Linked DNA regions of Homo sapiens: all the other regions are linked to region 3. The links are contacts of gene promoters, found by promoter capture Hi-C in blood cells and fetal thymus (Javierre and others, 2016). All regions are on one chromosome and are shown on one strand. Each heading gives the region's core, a stretch centred on a gene start or on the middle of the fragment in contact. The rest is flanking DNA. Distances are from core to core; before and after follow the strand shown.

What was found. The method cuts DNA at HindIII sites, captures the fragments that hold promoters and counts their contacts. A CHiCAGO score of 5 or more calls a contact.
Region 1: a contact is called between a fragment that was not itself captured here and the fragment with the promoter of MTIF2 in region 3, in 4 of 17 cell types (total CD8 T cells, total CD4 T cells, activated CD4 T cells and 1 more). The highest score is 5.7, in total CD8 T cells.
Region 2: a contact is called between a fragment that was not itself captured here and the fragment with the promoter of MTIF2 in region 3, in 2 of 17 cell types (monocytes and erythroblasts). The highest score is 5.9, in monocytes.
Region 4: a fragment that was not itself captured here is called in contact with the fragment with the promoter of MTIF2 in region 3 in 2 of 17 cell types (monocytes and M1 macrophages); the score reaches 5.5 in monocytes.

What each region holds. Positions count from the first base shown.
Region 1 is chr2:55,005,215-55,011,720 of GRCh38, reverse strand. The region is part of intron 3 of RTN4 (reticulon 4); the gene reads left to right. Among named protein-coding and RNA genes, the nearest start is that of RTN4, 42 kb to the left of the region's middle. RefSeq lists a silencer at 583-642. The HindIII fragment of the contact is 634 bases long and covers 1,070-1,703 here.
Region 2 is chr2:55,589,741-55,596,195 of GRCh38, reverse strand. All of the region lies in intron 4 of PPP4R3B (protein phosphatase 4 regulatory subunit 3B), which reads left to right. Among named protein-coding and RNA genes, the nearest start is that of PPP4R3B, 25 kb to the left of the region's middle. The HindIII fragment of the contact is 2,041 bases long and covers 3,523-5,563 here.
Region 3 is chr2:55,265,880-55,272,405 of GRCh38, reverse strand. MTIF2 (mitochondrial translational initiation factor 2) reads left to right here and starts at 3,175. Exons shown (of 16, transcript NM_002453.3): 1 at 3,175-3,237; 2 at 3,667-3,828; 3 at 4,771-4,837. RefSeq lists enhancers at 2,314-3,137, 3,083-3,232. The HindIII fragment of the contact is 1,895 bases long and covers 1,710-3,604 here.
Region 4 is chr2:55,561,091-55,568,464 of GRCh38, reverse strand. PPP4R3B (protein phosphatase 4 regulatory subunit 3B) reads left to right here. Exons shown (of 17, transcript NM_001122964.3): 13 at 102-271; 14 at 3,424-3,563; 15 at 3,968-4,152. It overlaps LOC124900537 (small nucleolar RNA SNORA12), which reads right to left and starts at 2,762; the gene lies at 2,615-2,762. RefSeq lists an enhancer at 941-1,441. The HindIII fragment of the contact is 751 bases long and covers 1,250-2,000 here.

The sequences.
Region 1 (6,506 bases), core at 137-2,636, 260 kb after region 3:
TTTAAGTCTTACATGTTTTGTTTTTAGTTTTTTTGGGTACATAATAGGAGTATATATTAATATCAAGCCACTTCTGATATTAAGGATTTTGCAGCCCACAGATAGCAGGTTCCAGAAAATATTATCTCTATTTCATTTTAGCTATACAGTCTTAAGTATGTATTTTTGTACATAGGCTACGTATCTTATAGTATTTTCGCAAATTGCATTTTAAAATATTTTAGCTGATTTGTTAGTGCCTTTTCTGCTTAGGCAGATATAAGTATCAGGTGAATTGATTGTGGAACATAAGTAGAGACACTGCATTGGAATGAAAATCAGTTTTATAAAGTTGAACACAGATTTTAAAAATGCTGTACATAGATTTGTTTTTATATTTTTCAGTAAAATTTTAGGCCAGGTGTGGTGGCTCATACCTGTAATCCCCGCACTTTAGGAGGCTGAGGTGGGAGAATTGCTTGAGCCCAGGAGTTTGTGACCAGCTTGGACAACACAGGGAGACCTCATCTCTAAAAAAAGTGTAAAAATAAAAAATTAACTGGGCATGGTGGCACATGCCTGTGGTGACTGAGATGGGAGGATCTCTTGAGCCTGGGAGGTTGAGGTTGCCATGTGACCAATGATTGCACCACTGCACTCCAGCCTTGGTGACAGAGCGAGACCCTGTGTCAGAAAAAAATAAAAAATAAAATAAAATTATAGTTTGCTTTTATGTCATTTTCCCATGGCAGATTATATCATTAGCCCATGAATATATCTCCCCAAGCTAAGAATCTATTAATACTGTCTGTAGAGGTGTCTAATAAATATTCAAAGATTGAGTTGGAGCAGATGATGATTAAGAGTAAGTGTATGTTTGTAAGTCTCTGGATTTCCATAATTGTAAAAGAGGAAAAAAGATATTAGGAAGATTAAGTTGCTAAAGTTTTCTGTTCAAATAATATGTTCAATAAACATTAGTAATTTGACTTTTATTTTCTGTTTATCTCTTCATAAGGTGCAAAATGCTGAATGTTTTACGTCTTAATGAACTTAGGAGCAATTAAGGAGACTCATCATTTCACAAGCTTGAAATTTAGGCTATTAATATTTGATCAGTCCATTTTTATCTTATTAGGTAACCATTAATTTTAGAGTTTTAAATGAAACTGAAAACCAGTAGCATAATTCGACCATCTGTTAAAAAAAGAAAGAAAAAAAAACTGCATATGGCTTTAATTGCATTTCAGATACATTCAGTGGTTAGTTCTAAGAACAACCCTTATTTCCTTTCTTTTGGTAGCCTGCCCTCTCCCTGCAAATGCAGCTCCATTTGGTATGAGCAACAAGGCAAATGCCTAAAACAATCAACAGATAGAAGGAAAGCATTAATGCTGGAGTATTAGTAGCCTAGTTACAGATTGCACTGCGTCAGACTGTTCCACACCCAGAAGACGTCAGGTGACTTCAGTCCTGCTGCAGTTGTGCAGCAGAGGAGACTGCAGACTTCGGTTGAGGAAACGGGTATTTCATGTCTCAGGGAGTAGGTTTGTGCAGTTACAGCTTTTCTGTTGGTATGCATAATTAATAATTGGAGCTGCAAAGCAGATCGTGACAAGAGATGGACGGTCAGAAGAAAAATTGGAAGGACAAGGGTATATCTGCTTTTTAATTTCTTATTCAGTTTTTATATGTGACCACTAATATATTTCTATGAATAAGCTTTGGAATTTAGATATTTTGGATTGAAAGTGAAACCTCTGAAGAGTTGAAGTCTAAAGGATTAAAACGGCTATCTCACGTGTTTTTACATTTGGTTGTATACCAGAAAATGTCATGCTGTTCTGTTTCACTGGCATTCGGTTTAGTCTTTTCAGTCCTGCCGTTTAGGTTCTGTTCTCTAATCTTGCACATTGTAAACAATATAGATCTAACAGATTTCATTTGTTCGTCACTTGGATGTGGTAAATACACATTGCTGTTTTTGTGTTTCACAGTGACATATTTTCCGTGACTATTTTAAAAAACCTTACTTGGTGTAGTTGAAATTCTGTGCAAAGGTTTGTAGGTAGCAAGATATTGTGTTTGCAGTAAGCCTCTTCTTTGAAAATCTGATTTGAACCTTTAAAATTATTACCAACTTTCTTTTAATCAGATTATGTGCATCTTGAAATCATTCAAATTACACAGTATAATTACGCAGTAATTTTAAATGCATGTCTATATTTAAGTCACTAACCTTTGTCCTTGTAATAACCAATCAGTGATTTTGATCCCTTTTCCTCCCCCTTGAAAGCCCAGATCCTTTCAAATCTCAGTGGATCATTGTGTAAGAATTTAAGCCTGTAAATGGTAAAATGTTGACTAGAATATTTAAAGAATATTTTATTATGTAGATGGTTAAATCTACCTTTTTTTCTTTAAAAGAAAGTGGTAGGCTGTATATCTGACCACTTATAATAAATTACCTTTAAATTATTAGAGCTATTTTTAAGTAGTCCAAAATAGACATTCTACGTAAGCAATTTTTTTCCTGGCTACATTCAAGTTTTATAATTAAAAAAAATTATTTCCTTCTAGCAGGATTGGCAACAATATTTCTAAAAGTATGTAGAGCTAATTACAGTAACTTTTACAATGTCTTTTTAAAAATTTGTTCAATAAAGATGTGGGGAAAAGGTGAATTTAAGATTGAGACCATATTGAGACATTGGTAAGATTTTATGGTTGCAACTTAAAAAATAATAGAAAACAATACAGCTTTGGGTTTTGCCTTTAGGATTTCTTTACATGTGAATTTAAAGAGAAGGATTTTTATTTCTTCATCCTGTTAGCCGTTGACGTTACAGATTGATGAATTGATATATGGTAGCTTTTGCTAAGTGAAAATGATACAAATGATAATAATACAATAAATACAGGCCTTAAAAGTAGGTGAAAAGTCGTATCAGGGCTCATTCTGCAACTATTAAGGTTCTTTATTAATAACTTAAGTCTTAAATCATTAAATAACATCTTAAGTTCTTTATTTGTTGAAGTAATTTAAAGGTATTATGAGACAGGAGAAATTAAGTTCCAATGTAGTTCATATTTTTTCCAGAGATTTGTTTGATTATTTTTAGGTACTCAAATGTAAAATTGAATTTACTCCTGAATATCTCTGGGGAGCCTCACTTTGTAAGTGGAATGGCCTAATATTTTTTAGTACCTGTCTGGCTGTTTTGGTCGGTAAGATTAACTTTGCCTGTTTTTCTGAGTCAGTGGTTAAATTATATTTTAGTATTTTCTCTATCAGCAGACAATTTTATTATTACAGAGTAATATTTAAGATTACAGAGTAAGGTTTAAGTTGGAAATCACTGAGAAGTTGGAAGCTGTCATGGAATGAGTTTTTCCTCATCTAAAAAAAAAATAGTTTGACAGCAGAGAAGGAGCCTAATCTAGGGTCTAGGTAAATTTAAAAAATATACTTAGGCATTTTTCTACTGCATTCTCCCCCTGACCACCAGTATAGCATAGTGACAGATTTGAGAGATGCTCTGATTTCAGTGTTCTTTAAAAGGTGGTGTGTGTGTGTGTGTGTGTGTGTGTGTGTGTGTTTGCTTGCCGATTAACTGGTATTTAAGATACTCGATCTTTCAGGCTGAAAGCATTAATAATTTGCATTCTTTTATATATTCTTCATATTTTCTGTTTAGGATACTTATGACAAATGACATTTACATAGTATTCGATTACTGGGGTTATATGGAAAATTTTGATTAAGGTAGTCAAAAGATTTTTAGGAGCTTAAAATAGGAAGGAATGGGTAGGCCTAGGGATTTGGATGGGGTAGGAGAATGATATAACCACTAAAAAGCTATAGTTGAGACAGTAAATAACTTTCTGGGTAGAACAGAATATTTAGGACAGGAGTTGAAAGATAAGATTGGTGTGGTCAAGGAATGTAGAAAATTTAGATGAACTAGATTAGGTTTCCTCATACTTCTCTGTAGATGAGAATCATCTAGTGCTTCTTAAAAATGCAGATTCCTTGGGTCGTGACCTACCAAATCAGATTTTGTAGGGCCTGGCAATCTGCATATTAAGCATCCTGGTGTAATTCATATTGTTGGGCAAATTCGGGAAACAGTGATCTAGGGTTTAAGCCTTGGTTCTGGTATATTTTGATTTTGGCTAGAATAAGAAACTTACCTTTTTGGTTTTAATTTCCTCATTTGCGTGCTGCCCAGGGTTCCAGTTGAGAGGTTCTCTGGTTTTATGGAAGAGATACCCTGGGCCAGACCGCAGAAGACATTGAGTTTTGGATTTGATTGTAAAAGAAATAAAAAGGATTTGGAAGTTTTAAAGTAGGGAATGGTAAATGATAGCAGTTGGTTTAGGGTGCTGCATAAGATCAACTGGGGGAGAATAACCTATAGCCACACCAGTTAGGATGACTGTAGTTGTGCCCAGATTTAAAGTAGATAGGCTTGAATTTGGCCTGAAATAGGAAGGAAGAAGAAGCGGCAGATTTGAGAAATTCAAGGAAGGAATACTTGGCATTTGGTATAGATTTGCAGGACAAGGATGAGGTGTAAAGACTCAAGGGGCAACATGAAGTTTGAATTAGAGTGAAATATTGGCAATGACAGTCCTTTAGTATTAGTAGAAATAGAGCTAAAATAGAAAAGATGCCAAGTTGAGTTTCAGACGCTTTGAATTTGAAGTGATGATAGAACATCTCGGAAGCTCAGATAAATGACAGGTTTAATGATAAAGAATTGGGAGTCAAATGCAGAGTGAGGCAGGTGAATACTATGTGAGGAGATTTGCACTGAAAGAACTATTAAGAAAGAAAAGCCTAAAACCTGCGTTATGGAGGTCTGCGGCTTTAGGGAAAATGAGGAGGTTCTAGAGCAGTAAAAGAAGCAGGATAGTGTAACTGATACTAAGGGGGGAAAGAATTTTCAAGAAGGAATGGGCAATTAAATACTTAGAGAAGCTGGTTAATATGAGTGAGAAATGGATGTGAATCTTGTTAAATTTTAAAAGTAGGTGCAACACTGTTCTTTATTGTTACAGTACTCTTTGGATTTGTCAGTTAATGTGCCAGAGGTAATCTTTGAGAGAAGTTTCTGTAGGATAGGGAAAGAAATGTTCCTAGCATTAAAACTCAATATAATTATATCTCAAGACAAACTAGTTTTGGACCATTTCTGCAGCATACTTCCGTGTAGAGATTCTTTTAGGGCTCTCTGATCTTTACTTATGATAAGCTACTTTCATTTTTTGAAAGCCTTGAATAAAGCTCATACTGACATTTTGGTAGAGAGTAGCAGGGGTCTTGCTGTTTGAAATGCCTTACTCGGGAAGGCCAAAAAATGCCCAACAAGGGAACTTTGGCATTAATTAATTATGGGGCCTACTGATTGGAACGACTCTCCTTTCAGTTCTAAACTTTGTTAAAACCGAATATTTAGGCATTCATTAGATACATTTTCTAGATCTTGGGTTAGTAGTGCAGCACTACATAGGTATGTGTTATAGAGAATTTAGAAGGTAAGTAGAAGAGTAAAACTCACATCGCATAGAGAATAGTTTTGGGGTATCTTTTTAACAGGGTAATGTGTGTTGGGAGGGTTTTGTGGTATATTTTATTCTGTAGTCTTTTTCCTCCATTAAGTATTTATTTTTTAAATACTGTACGCTATTTTAATGACTACAATATTTTAATTCCATCTAGTTAAATCAGGTTATTGCTAAAGTTTGCAAGTACAGGTTGAACATCCCTAATCTGAAAATCTAAAAGCCAAAATGCTCCAAAGTCTGAAACATTTTGAGCGCTGATGTGATACCACAAGTAGAAAATTCCACACATAAATACTTAACACAATCTTTGTTTCATGCACAGAATTATGTAAAATATTGCATAAAATTACTTCCAGCCTATGGGTATAACATGTAGATGAAACAGAATGAATTTCATGTTTAGACTTGGGCCTCACTCCCAAGATACCTCATTACGTATATGCAAGTATTCCAAAATATTTCCAAATATTCCAACATATTCTAGTCCCACATATTACAGTAATACTCAACCTGTAAAAACAATGCTAAAATGATTATAACTGAACATAAGTCTTTGTTTCTATTTGTGATTATTTCCAAATTTCTGGGTTATGTTATTTAGGCTTTGGGCGCCTTTTACAAAACTGCTTTCCAGAAAGATTGTACAAATTGTTATTTTCATCAGTGAATGTGAGTGTCTATCATGGATCTGTGGCTAAGGTTAAATAGTATGTATTCCTTTCTTACAGTTTTTACTCTAAGATAGCTATTTCGTCAGTGTTAACTCATTAAATTACTTGATAAGAACCAGCTTTATATTGTAAGATGTGTAAGCAGTGGGAGCAATGGTGGAAATAGCCTTTCTATTTTATTTACCCAAGTCTGTGTACTCCTCATCCTTACCAGGGCCCCTAACTGATCTTTCCACTAAATTATGTGTGTCACAGCGAAATTAAAATTACTCTTCCAAAGTGCAA
Region 2 (6,455 bases), core at 3,294-5,793, 320 kb before region 3:
TGCAGCAAGCTGTACTTTTTTTTTCTCAATGGGTAAAGGGTTAAAAGTATGTTTTCTTCCATTTTGAGAGATACTGTTATTATTGGGGTGTATACGAGTATGTGGCTATTTGCTATATGAAGGTGATTTTATTCTGTCTCCTTGAGTTGTGAAATAGGAGTTTTATACTATATTTATCATGTTAATCCTTTACACCCTAACAGTATAGTAAGCATGCTTTTTAAGTACTTGTCTTACTTGTAACAGTAGCCTATACTCAGCTTTCTGCATAACTGCTTTTGTTATTTCCATATCATTCACTAAGTTTATTGAGCAGCTACTATATACTTAGTATTGTGGATCTCAGAGTGTGGTTTGTGGACCTCTGGAAGTCCCTGAGCCCCTCTTACAGGCATTTATGAGGTTTTCCTTTTTCTAGTTTGATGTCAGTGTGAGGCTGTGTTTTTTTTTTTTTTTTCATGTACTTTTGCTTAAAGAACATATTGCAACACACTGAATGCCAGAAAAGATAAATGAGTATCTGGTTGTCATTTGTTAAGCCAGGTATTGAGATTTGCAAAAATGTAAAAGGGGCTACTCTTTTTTATAAAAGTTTAAATTTTGGATCATATAGCTGTTTCTCTTAAAAAATATTTACATAAACATAAAATGACTTATTTTAAAATGAATTCATAAATATTTTCACGAGTCTTGGTTTTAATTGTAATTTTTAAAAATTTATTTTATTTTTTATATAGAGACAGGATCTCACTGTGTTGCCCAGGCTGGTCTCAAACTCCTGGCCTCAAGTGATGCTCCTCACCCTCCCAAAGTGCTGAGATTATAGATATGAGCCACTGTACCCAGCCTCTGCATAATTCTTAAGAGTTTAGGCTGGGTGTGGTGGCTCATGCCTGTAATCCCAGCACTTTGGGAGGCCAAGGCCAGGAGGATCACTTGTGGTCAGGAGTTTGAGACCAGCCTGACCAACATGGCGAAACTCCATCTCTACTAAAAATACAAAAATTAGCCAGGCACAGTGGCACGTGCCTGTAATCCCAGCTACTCAGGAAGCTGAAGTGGGAGAATTGCTTGAACCGAGAGGCGGAGGTTGCAGTGAGCTGAGATTGTGCCACTGTACTCCAGCCAGGGTGACAGAGCGAGACTGTCTGAAAAAAAAAAAAAAAAAAGTTTAAAAGGGTCCTGATACAAATAATTGAGATTCTATCTCTGACTTAGTGCCTAGCTAATCGACTTCATTTTGCGACGTTTCCCACCAGTAGTCACCTATTATTGTTTACTTTAATTTTTTGCATAGGATTTACTTTTCTTTCAGGTCATTTATTCACCTACCAATTTTTTGTTATTCACCAATAATGAGTGTGGGGGAGGTTAGATGTACATATCAGGTTCTTTTTATAATATATAGGACCTGTGTATTTTTAAACTGTAGTATACAATTCAGGGTGCTATTTCACTTGTTGACAGAAAAACATTTAATAATCTTAGGAGATTGGACAGAGTCACAGTCTGTAGTTGATAAAAAGAGGACCAGGAACAGAAGCTCATATGTAGCTTTCAAATGACTGTTTTTGTCTTCAGAAGGGTTTCCAAATTCATACTAGTAAATCGTAAATACTTTTTTATATTCAGAAAATAAATTATATGAACTATAAATATTTGTAAAACTTTGTCATTTTATGTATTTTATAATAGGTTTATTTGTGAAGGCTATAATTACGTAAATCAAGTGCAGCTTTTTATTTTTCTAAAAGATTTACTCATTTCTGCTTCATGAGATGCATTTCATGAAATAGCCAGATTCTGTGAACTGTCTGTTATTTACATAACATTTACTACTTAATTATCTCTTATGTGCCAGCAATGATGTTGAATTTTTTTTTTTTTTTTTTTATTTTAGATTCAGAGGGCACATAGGCTTATTTGTTACATGGGTATTGCATGAGTAATGGTGGAGATTGGGCTTCTAGTGTACCCATCACCGTGATATTGAACACAGTGCCCAGTAGATAATTTTTAAACCTTCAGTCCTCTCCCATCCTACCCCTTTTTGGAGTTCCCAGTGTCTGTTATTTCCATCTTAATGTCCTTGTGTACCCACTTGTAAGTGAGAACATGCGATATATGATTTTCTGCCTCTGAGTTCACTTAGGATAATGGCCTCCAGCTCCATTCATGTTGCTACAAAAGACATGATTTCATTATTTTTTAACATTTCATTTGTATTCCACAGTGTATATATACACCCCATTTTCTTTGTCTGATCATCTGTTGGTAGACACTTAGGTGGGTTCCATGACTTTGCTATCATGAATAGTGCTGCGATCAATATACAAGTGCAGGTGTCTTTTTAATATAATGCTTTTTTTTCCTTTGGGTATGAATTGTGTTTTCAACTATGTGTGAAAAGGAAAGAAATAAGATTGTGGCCAGTGGTCTCTATTTTATTTTATTTTTTGTAGAGGTGGGGTTTTGCTATGTTGCCTAAACTGTTCTTACCTGGCCTCAAGCAATCCTAGTGCCCAGCCTTCCAAAGTGTTGGGATTACAGATGTGAACCACCACACCTGGCCCTACAGTGGCCTCTAAGCACTTATTTCCTAAAGTCTCACTCTGAGATTTCCATGTAGAAATTTTTGGTTAGGTAGTAGGTGTTTCTAGATACCTATCTGGGTATCTAGTACACTTACCTGTGGTTTCTTAAATGCGCATTAACTTGCTGCTGTGTGAGTTGTAGAAGGCAAGTGAATATGTAAGAATTTTATGTAACTGGGCCGAAGTGAGGTAGTACGAAGGTCCTTATCATAAATCCTAGCTTAAATTAGGTTAATTAACTGAGAAATTATATGAGAGTACTTAGCATAGTCAGTGGCTCCTAGTATGTGTGCTAATACATGTTGACAATATCTTAAGCATGATAGGGACATAAGACTTTAGTGACTCCAAATGTTCTAGCTAATTGCAGATCAAAATCCCCTGTGCCCAGAATTGAGCAACATTCTTTTAAAATATTTTAGAAATTATTTATTTATTTATTTTGAGACAGAGTCTCGCTCTGTCACCCAGGCTGGAGTGCAGTGGCGCCATCTTGGCTCACTGCAGCCTCTGCCTCCCAGGTTAAAGTGATTCTCAAGCCTCAGCCTCCTGGGAGCTGGGATTACAGGCAGCAGCCACCATGCCTGGCTAATTTTTGTATTTTTAGTATAGACAGTTTCACCATGTTGGCCAGGCTGGTCTTGAACTCCCAACCTCAGGTGATCCACCCGCCTCAGCCTACCAAAGTGCTGGGATTACAGGCATGAGCCACTGCCCCCAGCCAGAAATTAAATTTTTGAAAGCAAGTAAAATGAGATTATTTCTGCACAAACAGTTATAGAATAAGATCCTTTTCAGAACAAAGTTTTAATTTCTCTCCTTACTAGAAATGATGGAGGATAGGAATCTCAAATGTTGACATTTTAACACATTTACATATATTATATTATATACATATTTCTGCTATTCCATAGGTAAGAGTTAAGCTTAAAATTAGCCCAGCAGGATTAGCGGTTTAGTTCTCTTTTTAACATATTTTGCAGATGCTAAGGTTTTGGCACGGAAAGAGAAAAATTTCTAACTTCCCATCCCAGTTACAGATTAAGTATGTAAAATCTTCAGATACTCTTTAAAAAACTGTTTAGAGTAATAGGGCTTTTCATTTTGTTTTTAGGATTTTTCTTTGGATTCAAGTACAGGATTTAATATATTAAATTTTATCTTACTAGATTTGGCCCATTCCAGCTTTGTGTATCTTTTGCTTTGGTTTGATTCATACGTTTGAAGTTTGAAATACTTGGAAACCTGTCTTGTGGTTTACTTAGTAGGAGTGACAAAAACCTCATTAATTATTTGGGAGGCCTGGATTCTAAATCCATCTGTCACTAGCTACCCTCAGAAAGGTTCACTTTTTGAACCTCAGTCTCTTGAAATTTAAAATTGGACTTGACAGTCTCTGTAATGTTGCAAAATCTGATTTAATTCTAAATTTCTGTGTTTATATGTTTCTAAAAATGAATGGGTTCTGTTTTTTCTTTTGTTTGGCCTGTATTTATATTACTGCAAAGAGAAGAGTTTGATTTAGACTGTTTAGAAGCAACCTCTTTTTTTCCCCACAGTGTTTTTTTATGTTGTCCAGAAAAGCAGCCACACAAGTTTTGACTTAAATATATAGGTTTTATTAAAACAAAAGCTGTTAAAACCAAATAGAAAAGAAAAACTAAAAGAGATTAGTTTGATTACTTGGAGAACCAGAGATTTTGGAGTAAGTATTTCAACTATATGATAGGCTTTAAGTTATTGATTATTTGCTTCCTTCATAAATATATTGGAACAGAGTGCTTTTATAGCTTAATGAATAATAGCCAGAGTAATGCTGGAAATCAGGGAAAAAATACTAGGAATACATATTCTCTTAATGGACTGTAATAATTGAGATTGCCTCTATCTGTAATATTTTATGCAGTTCTACTTATCAGCTCACAAGTACCGAATCATATAAGAAGAATTCAAGTGGGAAATTGCATTTATCAAGGAGTTGGAACTTTTTTCTTATGAAAATATTTTGAAAAAATTAAATTTTCAGGTAGTAAAGGATGAAGATGTAATCTACAACAGATGCAGGAAAATAGAAATTTATAAAAGGTGTGAATGGAGGTAAATATGTACTTACTCACCCTAACCTAAAATATTAAGACTAAAAGTATTTGGAAAAAGTAGGCTGGGCATGGTGGCTCATGCCTGTAGTCCTAGCACTTTGGGAGGCTGAGGTGGGAGGATTGCTTGAGGCCAGGAGTTCGATACCAGCCTGGGCAACAAAGTGAAACCCCCCCATCTGTACAAAAAATTAAAAAAAAAATAGCCAGGTATGGTGGCACGTGCCCGCAGTCTCTGTTACATGGGAGTCTGAGGGAGGAAGATTGCTTGAGTCCAGGAGGTCGAGGCTACACTGAGCCACGTTTGTACCACTGCACTCCAGCCTGGGCAACAGAGTGAGACTCTAGAAAAAAAAAAAAAGGAAAAACTAACTTGAGGGCTAAATAAAAGATTACATATGCATATAAACTCCCTCAAAAGATGGATGTTCAGGCTGCAGTGCATAAGGTCCAAAAGGAGTCAATGAAATACGAAAAGAAACACCTGAGTCAGACTAATTAAATGACTCAGACACATTCTGAGTCAGACTAATTAAGTGATTCATCTCCCAGTGTCTTGTCTTTGAGTAGCACCAATTGATTTTTAGTAGAAGAGCATGTTATACTCTCTGATTGTACCTAGTGGTTTCTATTCATTTTTTAAAAATACATGTTCCACGTTATTTCAAAAAGGATTTAAGGGATTGATACCATTTAATGGATGATCCTCAGTAAGAAAAAGGACAGGTAGTTGGGGTGTATCCTTTAAATGTTAGGGTTTTATTTTACTATCAACTCTACAGATACTATTGTTACAAACTTTTTTAGAACATGTTACTTTAAATTAATGGAAATTACATTTCATAAAAATGAATTTTGAAGATAACTGAAGCTTAAAACCACCAACAATTTCCATCAGTTTTTTTAGCAGATTTTGATGAAATCTCTAAGGTGAATTTTAATATTTTTGCCCATTTTTTCCTTTGTAATTTAGTCTGTGCTTATTGTAGAAAATTAGAAAATATAGATAACCAAAAAGAAAATCACTCATAACCTATCACCAATTAGAAAATATAGATAACCAAAAAAGAAAATCACTCATAACCTATCAGCAAGCAGTAACCACAGTTAACAGTCTAACCGGTACTCCTAGACTTTAGACAAACAAATTTATTTATTATTATTATTTTGTTGTTGTTGAGACGGAGTTTCACTCTTGTTGCCCAGGCTGGACTGCAATGGCGCAATCTCGGCTCACTGCAACCTCCGCCTCCCAGGTTCAAGCGATTCTCCTGCCTCAGCCTCCCTAGTAGCTAGGATTACAGGCATGTGCCACCATGCCTGGCTAGTTTTGTATTTTTAGTGGAGACGGGGTTTCTCCATGTTGGTCAAGCTGGTCTGGAACTTCCGACCTCAGGTGATCCCCCCGCCTCAGCCTCCCAAAGTGCTGGGATTACACGCATGAGCCACCACACCTGGCCCACAAATTTATTTTTTAAAAATGCGTGCTTGACTATATATATATTATATATATATAATATATTAAATATATATATAAATATATATATAATTATATATATTTTTTATATATATATAATTTTTTTTTTTTTTGAGATGGAGTCTCGCTCTTTTGTCCAGGCTGGAATACAGTGGCACAATCTCGGCTCACTGCAAGCTCCCCCTCCCGGGTTCACGCCATTCTCCTGCCTCAGCCTCCCAGGTAGCTGCCACTACAGGCGCCCACCACCATGCCTGGCTAATTTTTTTGTATTTTTAGTAGAGACAG
Region 3 (6,526 bases), core at 1,926-4,425:
GCCTTGCAAGCCAAGTAAGACAGCAAAGAATTACTTCTCACAGAAATTAAACTTCAGTAGATATCTGCGAGTAGTAGGTAAAATGATAGCAGTTGGAGTAAACTTCAATAGTTTTCAACTGTTGTGCCTGTTAGGTTCAGTTAAAAAAAATTTCCAGGCCTAGCGCACTGGCTCACACCTGGAATCATAGCACTTTGGGAGGCTGAGGCGGGCAGATCACTTCAGGTCAGGAGTTCAAAACCGGCCAGGCCAATTGTACTAAAAATACAAAAAAAATTAGCCGGGCATGGAGGCAGACACCTGTAATCCCAGCTACTCTGGAAGCTGAGGCAGGAGAATCGCTTGAACCTGCGAGGCGGAGGTTGCAGTGGGCTGAGATCGTGCCATTGCACTCCAGCCTGGGTGACAGAGTGAGACTCCATCTCAAAAAAAAAAAAATGTCCAGGAGAGGAGTTTGCATTAAATCATTCAGTAACACCGATTACACACCTTTGTAGTAGGCATTGGGAAAGTGGGGAAAAAAAAGAGGTTGGTAGGTTGGGATGGGGGCATGAGTTAGGAGGTAAGATGATGGTGTAGCAGGATGAGCCGCAGACAAAACCTCTCAGACACCGAGTTGTAGAAGGAAGGGCTTTATTCAGCTGGGAGCATTGGCAAGCCACTGCCTTAAAATCCGAGCTCCCTGAGTGCACAATTTCTGTCCCTTTTAAGGGTTCACAACACTAAAGATTTCACATGAAAGTGTCGTGATTGATTTGAGCAAGCAAGGGGTACGTGACAGGGGCTGCATGCACCGGTGGTCAGAGACAAACAGAACAGGGCAGGGAGTTTCACAATGTTCTATACAATGTCTGGAATCTATGAATAACATCGGTTTCTAGGTTATGAGTTGATTTTTATTTTATTTATTTATTTATTTATTTATTTATTTATTTATTTATTTTGAGACGGAGTCTCGCTCTGTCACCCAGGCTGGAGTGCAGTGGCGCCATCTCGGCTCACTGCAAGCTCCGCCTCCCAGGTTCACGCCATTCTCCTGCCTCAACGTCCCAAGTAGCTGGGACTACAGGCACCCGCCACCACACCCGGCTAATTTTTTTTAATATATATTTAGTAGAGACGGGGTTTCACCGTGTTAGCCAGGGTGGTCTCGATCTCCTGACTTCGTGATCCACCCGCCTCGGCCTCCCAAAGCGCTGGGATTACAGGCGTGAGCCACTGCGCCCAGCCTGAGTTGATTTTTAACTACTGGGTTTAGGCCAGGCAGAGCCAGGCCTGGTTTTGGGCCTGGCGCCGGACTGCCTGTCTTTGATTTCACTTCTTTTTTCTCTCTTAAAACAGGTACTGAGTATAAAACAATATAAAACAATATGAGAGGGTCTCTCTCTTCCCTCAATGGCAAGTATGCTTTTGAGTAATGAACTTCTGTACCATACCAATTACCCAGGGGAGTGGTAGATCTTAAAGACAAAGATTAATTGATTGATTTTGTTTTCTTCTCAAATTCCTTTTACCAAAAGACAGAGATAATAAAACAATATTTATATTTGAGAGGTGGTGATGGTTGTGGTCAAAACGACCAGCTGAAAGTCATAATGTCCAAGCAAGATGAGGGAAAGCTCTGGGGGCAGGCAGTAATAACCATAACAGCAAACACATACTATGAACCAGGCACTACTTATCAACAGTTTATCAACCCATTAAAAGCTTATTGCAGCCGGGCGTGGTGGCTCATGCCTGTAATCCCAGCACTTTGGGAGGCTTAGGTGGGCAGTCACCTGAGGTCAGGAGTTCGAGACCAGCTTGGCCAACATGGTGAATTAGTGAGGCATGGTGATGTGCCCCTGTAATCTCAGCTACGCGGGAGGCTGAGGCGGGAGAATCACTTGAACCCAGGAAGCGGAGTTTGGTTGCAATGAGCCGAGATCGCGCCATTGTGCTCCAGCTTGGGCGACAGAGTGACACTGTCTCAAAAAAAACAAAAAACAGTCTGGGAGAGGTGGCTAACGCCTGTCATCCCAGCACTTTGGGAGGCCGATGTGGGCGGATCATCTGAAATAGGGAATTCGAGACCAGCCTGACCAACATGGAAAAACCCTGTCTCTACAAGAAACACAAAATTAGCCAGGAGTGGTGGCACATGCCTGTAATCCCAGCTACTCGGGAGGCTGAGGCAGGAGAATCGCTTGAACCCGGGAGGCAGAGGTTGCGGTGAGCTGAGATCGTGCCATTGCACTCCGGCCTGGGCAACAAGAGCGAAACTCCATCTCAAAAACAAATAGAAACAAAAACACAACAAAAACCTTATTACAATCCTGTGAACTAGCTACTGTCATTACTATAATGTAGATGAACAAACTGGGACATGGACAGTTGACAAAACATTCCCAACCACACACTAGGAATGAGCTGGGATAGGAAACCAGGCACTCTGGCTCTATTACTCCTAATGCCATACACACGAGCTGACTTAGGAGAAAACAGAAAGTACTGTTCGCACAATACTAACTGGTTCTACCGCCACTGTTCGCTTGCATTTGTTTTTTCCTTCTTGTTAGGAACACGTATCTTTGAAGGAGGTATCATTTCTCCCACAATTCTCCATTTAACGTTTCCTACAGTGTTAAGCACCACCGAGGCCTCTCATAGCCCCAGAGAAGAAGTAATTTGCTTCCTAGAAATCCTCACTGTATCCAGATTCCCTCCCAGAGGAGCCATCAGTTCTCATGGGTGGCACTTTTTCTCCAGCTGATTACACTTTTTTTCTGTACCAGTTAATTTTTCCAACTTCTAATTGAATAAAGGCAGTTTTCTTAAAAAAAAAAAAAAGAGAAAGAAAAACGGAAAGGAAGGAAGAGGAAAGGAAGGAAGAAATGAAGAAAGGAAGGAAGGAAAGAAAGGAGAGGGACAGAAAGAAAAAAAGGAAAGAGAGAAAGAAAGGAAAGGAAAGTAAGAAATGGAAGGGACCTGCAGAAACGATTCACCACGCGCGGCTGACCCTGGGAGGAGCCACAGGTTGAACCAGCGCCTCCCAGGCTGGACGCCCGCCGCGGACACCGCAGACAGTCCCACCCCCAGCGGCGACAGCAACTCTCTGAATTCCGGAAAGAACCTTTTCCAGCGGGACCGGAAGCCCGGCGGGGACCGTAGCGGGGACGGACTGACCTACCGACCATTCTTCCGGGTCCAGAAGGTGATCTCCGCCCGTGCTCAGAATCCAGGGGCCCGGGGCTGTAGGTAGGAGTTAAGTGGGTAGGATCCCTTAACCAGGGTTGTCCGGTGCAGGTGGTGTGTGTTGTTTCGCCTAACGTGTCAGTGGCACAAATCACGCGAACTTCATAAACATTGTGCGTTCGGAAGCCTTTCCAAGATGCATTTAATCCCTGCGTGAGCCCACGTTAGGCATTCACGAAGGCATGTGCACTGTTCTCTCGGAAGCGGCTGGCCGGCTTCCCCTCCTCGCGCGCGGCTGTGGGTGCAGGTCCTCACTTCCCAGCCTCCCATGGGCCCAAGGCCTTCTGGGCTCCAATTTGAGGCGAGCCACCCCAGATCCGTAATTTTTCTGCAGTGATTTATTTTTACCTTTCTGGTAAGTTCCAAAGCTTCCAGCTCACATTCAGACGTTTTCCCTAACGCAACTACGTATTTGCAACATACTTTTTTCAGATTCCTTGACAAGGATATCCTAGCGGCGAAACAACACCGTACTGGGAGTCAGAACGTCTGGGTTCTAGTCTTGACTGCCATTAACTAGCGGTATGACATTGGAGAAGCTTTTTTGACCCTTCTGGATTTCCGTTTCCTTTTCTGTAAAATGAGGAGCTTGGAGTAAGTGACAAGTTTCCTTCCAGTTTTGACATTTGGGTTATTGCCTCCAATGTGTCTTTCCAGTTCCTGCCTCAATTACATATCTGTGCTTTGGTTAATATCTCGTAGGGTCCTTCCTCCCACTCCATTAATCTGTGCTCTTCTCAAATCTGGTTTCATACTGATTTAAAAATTATTTTCTCAAGGAATCCTGTGTTACCTGAGCACTCTACTTCTTGGTCCAGGGGCACAAACGTAAATAAGATATTTTCCATGTGCCATTCTTAGAAGTATTTAATGTGTGTAAATACTATTGAATGAATTTCCAAATCTTCTTTTTTTTTTCTTTAGACAGAGTCTCACTGTCGCCCAGGCTGGAGTGCAGTGGCCTGATCTCGGCTCACTGCAGTCTCTGCCTCCTGGGTTCAAGCGATTCTCCTGCCTCAGCCTCCCAAGTCGCTGGGATTACAGGCGCCCGCCACCGTACCCGGCTAATTTTTGTACTTTTAGTAGAGAGGGGGTTTCACCATGTTGGCCAGGCTGGTCTCGAACTCCTGACCTCAGGTGATCCGCCCGCCTCGACCTCCCAAAGTGCTAGGATTACAGGCATGAGCCATCACGCCCAGCCTGAATTTCTAAATCTTAATGTGTTTATTTCGTTGGCATTAAGTTAGATTTTTCCTTGATCTTTACTCGAATAAGCCTTTTAAGGTAAAATGCTTGCTCGATTACACACACATACACAACCTCATAATTGTCCGAAGGTAAACAAGTTAATGACTTGTGAATATTTTTAACTTATAAGCAATGAATCCTCAAAGCTTATAAGCGAGTATCAAGACATGTGATATGGTTTTAAAATAGCTGATGATAAAGTATATACATCATCTCATTTTCTCCTCTTAGTCTTGTAATAGGAAGGACAGATATTCAAACACTTATTTATTTATTTATTTTTAACAGAGATCCGGAAAATGAGGCCCATAGGAAACAAGTGACTTGCTGAGTCCAGATAACACTGACTGTCAGAGTGAGTGTCCACCTAAGGTTCCTTTGTTGCCTAATAAGATACTTTCTTTGCTATACTGTACTTGTTTCTGTTATCATTTCTTTTCTTTCTTTTAAAAAATATTCAGTATAGGCCAGGCGCGGTGGCTCACGCCTGTAATCCCAGCACTTTGGGAGGCCAAGGCGGATAGATCACCTGAGGTCAGGAGTTCAAGACCAGCCTGGCCAACACGGTGAAACCCCGTCTCTACTAAAAATACAAAATAATTAGCCGGGTGTGCTGGCAGGCACCTGTAATCCCAGCGACTTGGGAGGCTGAGGCAGGAGAATCCCCTGAACCCAGCAGGTGGAGGTTGTAGTGAGCCAAGATCACGCCATTGCACTCCAGCCTGAGCGATGAGCAAAACTCCATCTCAAAAAAAAAAATTCAGTATATTCTATTTACCATGTCAGAACCATACATTTACTATGTCAGAACCATAAAATACACTTTGGGAAGATTGGTTGAAATGTAACATTTAGGCTAGGCGTGGTGGCTCACGCCTGTAATCCCAGCACTTTGGGAGGCTGAGACAGGTGGATCACCTGAGGTCAGGAGTTTGAGACTAGCCTGGCCAACATGGTAAAACCCGGTGTCTACTAAAAATACAAAAATTAGCCTGACACGGTGGCACACACCTGTAGTTCAAGCTACTTGGGAGGCTAAGGCTGGAGAAAATTGCTTGAACCCAGGAGGCAGAGGTTGCAGTGGGCTGAGATCACACCACTGAACTCCACCCTGGGCAACAGAGCGAGACTCCATCTGAAAAAAAAAAAAAAAAAAAAAAGAATGAAATGTAGCATTTAATGCCTAGTTATCTAGCAAAGATCACCCGTCCAGAGCCTTAATTTCTTTGGTCACATCAAATAACTATTATCATTTGTGAACAATTTTAAAGACTATCTAGTAGAAAATATAAATATATTTATATAATATATATGTTGTATATAAATATAAAATATAAGCATATTGTAGAAATGCCATATTATGAGATAAATCATTAAAAAAAAATTTTTTTTTTTTTTGAGACAGAGTCTCGCTCTGTCTCCCCGGCTGGAGTGCAGTGGCGTGATCTTGGCTCACTGCAACCTCTGTCTCCCGGGTTCAAGAAATTCTCCTGCCTCAGCCTCCCAAGTAGCTGGGACTACAGGCATGTGCCACCACGCCCAGGTAATTTTTTTGTATTTTTAATAGAGACGGGGTTTCACCATGTCGGTCAGGCTGGCGTCGAACTCCTGACCTCAAATGATCTGCCTGCCTTGGCCTCCCACAGTGCTGAGATTACAGGCATGAGCCACTGCGCCTGGCCAAAAATTTTAAGGCTTTGTAAAAGTTTATAATTTTGTTCAAGATAGCTTTATATGGTTAAGGTAAACGCATTGAAATAGTTCATAATTTCCATTCTTTTTTTTTTGTAATGCTGAAGAATATATGTGTCTCTCAGTATCTATGGGGCATTGGTTCCAGGACCCCCGCTGCCGCATGCCAAAATTTACAGATGTCCAAGTTCCTTATATAAAATGGCGTATATTTACATGTAACCTAAGCACATACCATTGTATACTTCATGTCATCTCTAGATTACTTATGATACCTAATACAAAGCAAATACTATGTAAACAGTATACTTTAGGGAATAATGACAAGGAAAAAGGTGTACATATTCAGTAG
Region 4 (7,374 bases), core at 376-2,875, 300 kb before region 3:
TTTTAGAAGAGCATATACATTGCTTTATGGTGGAAAAACACCTGTATAATAATTGATTTTAGTAAGATCATTAACTTATTCCCTATATTATTTTTAATTAGGTGCCCTTCGCTTTATGAGGCGGATAATTGGACTTAAAGATGAATTTTATAATCGTTACATCACCAAGGGAAATCTTTTTGAGCCAGTTATAAATGCACTTCTGGATAATGGAACTCGGTATAATCTGTTGAATTCAGCTGTTATTGAGTTGTTTGAATTTATAAGAGTGGTAAGTTTATATAAAACAGCTGTTATTATATGTAATTATATGTAAATAATTTTTTATGTAAAAGAATTACATGTAAGCAAAGTGACTTCATTCCCTTTTCACCCCTGAAATTATATATTCCATGTGTCTTAGAATCTATTCTAATAAACAGAAATTTTAAAAATCAGTAGCTTTTTAATTCTTATTTGCCACATGGTTATAGTTTAGTGGTTTTTACTTTTGACACTGATATTTTTTAACGCTAATATTTTTAATTGTGAAATATAAAAGTGAAATTCAGCATAGTCTTTCAGCCCATATTTACTTGATTTTCTCAGTTCCATTTTTATTGGCCAAATGTTTCATGATCTCATTTGGTGTATGTGGACATTTCAGTCAATCATGCCTTATTCACGTGATCTTTTAGGAAAAGGTGATATTTTTATTGTAGAGGTAATGATTTAAAAAGAATAGAAAGATGGAAAAATAATTCACTTGGGGTTGGGCGTGGTGGCTTACGTCTGTAATCCCAGCACTTTGGGAGACCTGGGCAGGCTGATCACTTAAGGTCAGGAGTTCGTGACCAGCCTGGCCAACATGATGAAACCCCATCTCTACTAAAAATACAGAAATTAGCTGAGTGTGATGGCACACGCCTGTAGTCCCAGCCACTTGGGAAGCTGAGGCACAAGAACCACTTGCATCCAGGAGGTGGGGTTGCAGTGAGCCAAGATTGCATCACTTCATTCCAGCCTGGGTGACAGAGCAAGACTCTTGTCTCAAAAAAAAAAATCATTTGGTAGACATTAATACAACATGCATAAAAGGTAGGATGGAATCCTAGAATTTTAAGTTAAAGAGATCAGGAAGTTAGATGGACTACTCCAATTACCGTATTTTATAGATCAGGAAATTAAGACACCCAAAGTTATTAAGTGACCTATTCAAGAACATCCTTTTGGATAGTAGCACAATCAGGACCAGTCAGAACTTGAAGCTTTGTCCCAGCTTAGTTTTAGGCAACAGAAGATTTGTCATAAACAATCTGGAGGGCAGTCTATGTGAATAACAGGAATGCAACAGATAACTGTAGAACCAGTACAACAAATTTACTTCACCTGTACTTAAACACACCGAAATCATTCCACTGAGGAAATGGCCACATAGTTGGAAAGAATTTGGGTTTTATTTTTTGTTTTGTTTTGTTTGAGACAAGGTCTCATGCTGTTGCCCAAGCTGGAGTACAATAATGTAATCACAGTTCACTGCAGCCTCGACCTCCTGGGCTCAAGCAGATCCTCCCACGTCAGCCTCCTGAGTAATTGGAACTACAGGCATGCACTAAAGTGCCTGGCTAATGGTAATTTTTTTTTATGTATGGGGTCTCCCTTTGTTGCCCAGGCTGGTCTCAAACGCCTAGGCTCAACCAGTTCTCCCACCTCAGCCTCCCAAAGTGTTGGATTACAGGTGTGAGCCACTGCACCTGGCTGGAAATAATTTGAAAAATCAAAGTCCAAGCTAGAAATTCATTATCTAGTTTTATTTCTTACAAGTCAGATTTTTGCTGATAACATGCTATTCTCATATGAAGATTATTTGGCTGACTGGATTGTTTTTCTAAAAGTGGTCAATTGCCAAGTATATGATTTTTAAAAGGATGAAGAGGATAGAAGTCTTTAACCTGGTAAAAGAAGGAACATGGTTAACTAGCTCACTAGTTCCCATTGTACTGCTGCAATAAATCAAAGCTTTATATTTTATTTACTTTATATTATTCTCCTTTAAAATTTTGGTGAGATACAGATAAAGCAAATGGTAGAGTTTACAACCCTGTCCCTATGCCCATGATGGAATTGTTTTTGTGAAAATAAGTTCGAGTGGTCGATTTGTGTACCTTGTGCCCCAAAACTTAATGTATTTTTTCGTTTCACATATAACATAGAGCCATTACCTAGGTTTCTAATTTCTGATTTGCGTATTTTTTTTCAATTGAGAAGTACAGGAGAACTAGTTTTAAGACTTAAAATCCATAATGCAACCAAATTATGGTGTATCTTTTCAAGAAATGACCTGTGTGTTTCTTACTATGTAGTGTTATCTGTAAAGTCCTCAATCACAACTTTAATTTTTTTTTTTAAAATAAGCCTACTGGGCATGCATGCATTTGCAGTGATGGTTTAGAATTTAGAAGTTATTACTATCAATTAGTTTATTTCACAGATATTATACTATTGGAAGACTATAGGAATAGACAAGTAGAATTCCAGATAGTTTATCAGATCTGTGTGTATAATATAGTCAGAGAAGTCTTTGCTTCTTATTATTTAGGTAACACGTGTCCTCTGTTGTTTTTTCTTCTTCTGTGTGTGTGAAAGCCAGCCTCTGATGTGGGAAAGGCTTGAGAGAGATCTCTTTGTCATCAAGCCTTTGCCAGCTCCTATATGATATATGTGGCAGAGTTAGGCTCATTTGAAAACTTAACAAATGTACCAGAAAGAAAACCACCACAACCATATCCCATTTTGATAGCAGTTAAACAGGAAGTCATTAAATAAGACCTGTTTGTTGAAAAATATGTTTTTCTTTTATTAATACATAATATTATACAGATGTATTTGGTACATGTATTTATTTTTTACATGCATAGAATGTGTAATGATCAAGTCCGGGTATTTGGGGTATCCATCACCGTGAGTATTTTGAAAATGTAATTTTAACATCTGCCCTCTAACCAGCCGTGTGCTCTGGATCAAACCATCCAGCCTCTCTTAGAGCCTCAATTTTGGTTTTTCTCTAAAATGGGAATAATAAAACCTATCTCATAGAATTGTTGTGAAGATCAAATGAAATTTTATGTAAAAGTGCTTTTTAAATTGTAAACTGCTATATATATATATATATATACAAAAAATAGAAGATGTAAAATAAATCTATTTACTTTTCGAATGCTCTTTATAGTCCTATAAAAGGACTCCAGTAAATTGCTTCTCCTTTTTTTTCAAGTTTTCTGTGCAGTCCTGACTCATGTGTAAAGAAACCAGGACATTACATTTTGGAAGGTGATTTTGAAAAACCTTTTTTGATCAGCTTTAGAACTACAAAACAAAATTTTAAAGTTTTTCTTCTAACAAGCATTGTATTATATTTTAAATGTAAATTTTGTGCTTATACAGGAAGATATCAAGTCTCTTACTGCCCATATAGTTGAAAACTTTTATAAAGCACTTGAATCGATTGAATATGTTCAGACATTCAAAGGATTGAAGACTAAATATGAGCAAGAAAAAGACAGACAAAATCAGAAACTGAACAGGTATTGTTTAAGTATACTGCTTTTATAGCCTACAAAACTGTGTCCAAAATTGTTTGTAGTTCAGATTTTCCATGTGAAATTTACTGAGGAATTTTCTTTCCATCACTGGATAGCATAGAGTTGAATAGGAGGGTAAGGCGTCCCCCCTACCCCATATCATTTATATGTTGAATTACTACTCCATGTTGTAACTTACGAAGAATATTTAGTTTAATTTACAACATCCTAAAATATTTTGGAGTGTTCTCTGGCTACATCTTCTATCATTACAGAGATTATTTTGATATAAATTATAGTCAGTTAAAATTACTTCAGTTCATCTTGGTTATACATATTTTTCCTTCAGTTCAATCTGATGATGAACTTTAAATCATTACTCAATATTTGTGATATATTTCTTACAGTGTACCATCTATATTGCGTAGTAACAGATTTCGCAGAGATGCAAAAGCCTTGGAAGAGGATGAAGAAATGTGGTTTAATGAAGATGAAGAAGAGGAAGGAAAAGCAGTTGTGGCACCAGTGGAAAAACCTAAGCCAGAAGATGATTTTCCAGATAATTATGAAAAGTTTATGGAGACTAAAAAAGGTATTAAAATTCGGAATTTTTGCACAGTGTACCCTCTTATTTAGTGCAGAAATTATTTTGTTGCTTTGTGAAGGTTTGTTTATAGTTTACAAAGCAAGAAAGACAAAAATTTTATACCAAACTGTGTTCTTTTAAAATTATGTACTTTTTCCAAATCTGTCTGGGAATTCTTTTCATGTTTAAAATGTTTCTCTTCAAACTTGCTATTTTGTAATGCTGTTAATTTGCTAGTTAGAAATTGAATTATCTACTTATACTTTTCTTTCTGTGAATAGTCTTGGCTTTATTTCTATACTGAAATTCTCAGTAATAACAGAGACCATATAGCTTCATAGAAACCTTCTAGAGTACTTTGCCTGTGTCTTTTACAGCTGATAAACTGAGCTCAAACAAGTAACTTTGCTCTTTGAAATTTTAAAATTACAAAAGTTACATAAAGATATACTAACAAGAGAAGTGAAAAAGTAAAACTTCCCCTGGCTTTCAGATGTGCTTAACTTGTTTTATAAAATGAAGATCTTGCTAGTAATATATCTTTCAAAAGAACTAACCATTTTACTTCTGTGGCCTGAGGAATTACCATTTTTTGGAATACTGCCCTGAGTATATCATTTAAATATTTAATTAAAATTTATACCTTGCTGGGCATGGCGGCTCACGTCTGTAATCCCAGCACTTTGGGAGACTGAGGCAGGTGGATCATTTGAGCCCAGGAGTTCCAAACCACCCTGGGTAACATGGTAAAACCCTGTCTCTACAAAAAAACACAAAAATTAAATGGGCACAGTGGCACTTACCTGGAGTCCCAGCTACTAGGAAGGCTGAGGCTGGAGGATCACTTGAGCCCAGGAGGTCGAAGCTGCAGTGAGCCATGAGCTGCCGCTGCACTCCAGCTTAATAACAGAGAAAGACCTTATCTCAAAAACAAAAGAAAAAATTTATGTCTTAGAAGATAAAAGCCTTTCTTGGATTTATTATGTAAGTTTGTGATTTTGAATGTGACATTTTCTAAAGACAATTCTCAGAAAATTAATTTCATTTATTACATTTTCTTTGAAACTATTGTTCGTACTCATTTTCAACTCATTAGTTTGATAAGTTTTATTTGCCTCAGCGTGGCGGAGCAAAAAGCTTATTAAAATATCCTAAGAAATCGGTACCTTTGCTAGACAAATTCTTCTGCCTTTACTCATTACAGGTACTGCCCTGACTATTGTCAAAAGAGGCAGTACAGCCATATTTGAAGTTCTGTATCCAGTGTTGAGTGAGATGCTGTTAAGAATCATATATAAAAATAATAACCAGATGTTAAAAGGGATTGGACACCTATGTCATAACACAAACAGAAAAAGGAACCTGGAATATTTAGGACTTACGGACTTGATCATTGTCTTTAGGCATTTGGAATATTGACTTGTGAGAGAAATTACTAGGTTTTTACCATGAGTAAAGAAGTGTAGAGTCAGTGAGTGGAAGCTACAGGGAGACAATAAAAGGAAGAGTCAGACAGCTAATGAGATTTTAGATGTATGTGCTAGATACCACAATGTAGAGTTCTAGCATAGAATGGCTAATTTTGTTATGATCCGTAAGGTCCTTTCTAATACTGAGATTTCTAAGATTCTAGCTAATAAAGACTTACCACTTGTATTAGTTCGTTTTATACTGTTAAAAAGAACTACCTAAGACTGGGTAGTTTATGAAGAAAAGAGGTTTGATTAACTCACAGTTCTGTAGGCTTAACAGGAAACATGGCTGAAAGGCTTCGAGAACCTTACAGTCATGGTCGAAGGCGAAAGGAAAGCAAGCATATCTTAACCATGGTGGAGCGGGAGACAGAGAGTGTGAAGGAGGAGGTGCCATGCACTTTTGTTTGTTTGTTTGCTTTTTGAGATGGAGTCTCCTTCTCATTGCCCAGGCTGGAGTGCAGTGGCGTGATCTCGGCTCACTGCAACCTCTGCCTCCTGGGCTCAAGCAATTCTCCTGCCTCAGCCTCTCAAGTAGTTGGGATTACAGGCATGTACCACCACACCCAGCTAATTTTTATATTTTTAATAGAGATGGGGTTTCACCATGTTGGCCAGGCTGGTCTTGAACTCCTGGTCTCAGATGATTCACCCACTTTGGCCTCCCAAAGTGCTGGGATTACAGGCATGAGCCACCAAGCCCGGCCGAGGTGCCACACACTTTGAAACAACCAGATCTCGTGAGAACTCACTATCACAAAAATAGCAAGGGGGTTTTCTGCCTCCATGATTCAGTCATCTCCTCCAACACCTGGGGATTACAATTCACAATGAGATTTGGGTGGGGACAAGAGCCAAACCATATCATTCCACCCCGGTCCCTCCCTAATTTCATGTCCTTTTTACATTTCAAAACCAATCATGCCTTCCCAACAGTCCCCCATAACTCATTCCAGCATTAACTCAAAAGTCCAAGTCCAAAGTCTCATATGAGACAAAGTAAATCCCTTCTGCCTGTGATCCTATAAAATAAAAAACAAGTTAGTTACCTCCAAGATACAACGGGGGTACAGACATTGGGTAAATGCTCCCATTCCAAATGGAAGAAATTGGCCAAAACAAAGGGGCTACAGGCCCTGGGCAAGTGCAAAGCCCAGCAGGGCAGTCTTTAAATCTTAAAGCTCCAAAATAATCTCCTTTGACTCCATGTTTCACATCCAGGGCATGCTGATACAACAGGTAGGCTCCCAGGGCCATGGCTGGCTTCGCCCCTATGGCTTTGCCAGGTACAGCCCCCATGGCTGCTTTCATGGGCTAGAGTTGAGTGCCTGTGGCTTTTCCAGGTGCATGGTGCAAGCTGTTGGTAGATCTACTGTTCTGGGGTCTGGAGGATGGTGGCCCTCTTCTCATGGCTCCACTAGGCAGTATCCCAGTGGGGACTCTATGTGGGGGCTCCAACCTCACATTTCCCTTCCGCACTGCCCTAGTAGAGGTTCTTCATAAGAGCTCTGCCCCTGCAGCAGATTTCTGCCTAGATATCCAGGCATTTCTATATGTCTTCTGAAATCTAGGTGGTTTGAGAATCAGAGGTTACCAAACCTCAGTTCTTGCCTCTACCCCACAGGCCCCGTGTCACATGGAAGCCACCAAGAGTTGGGGCTTGCACGCTCTAAAGCCATGGCCCAAGCTGTACCTTGGCTCCTTTTCGCCATGGCTGGAGCTGCAGCACCTGGGATGCAGGGTGTCCCAAGACTGC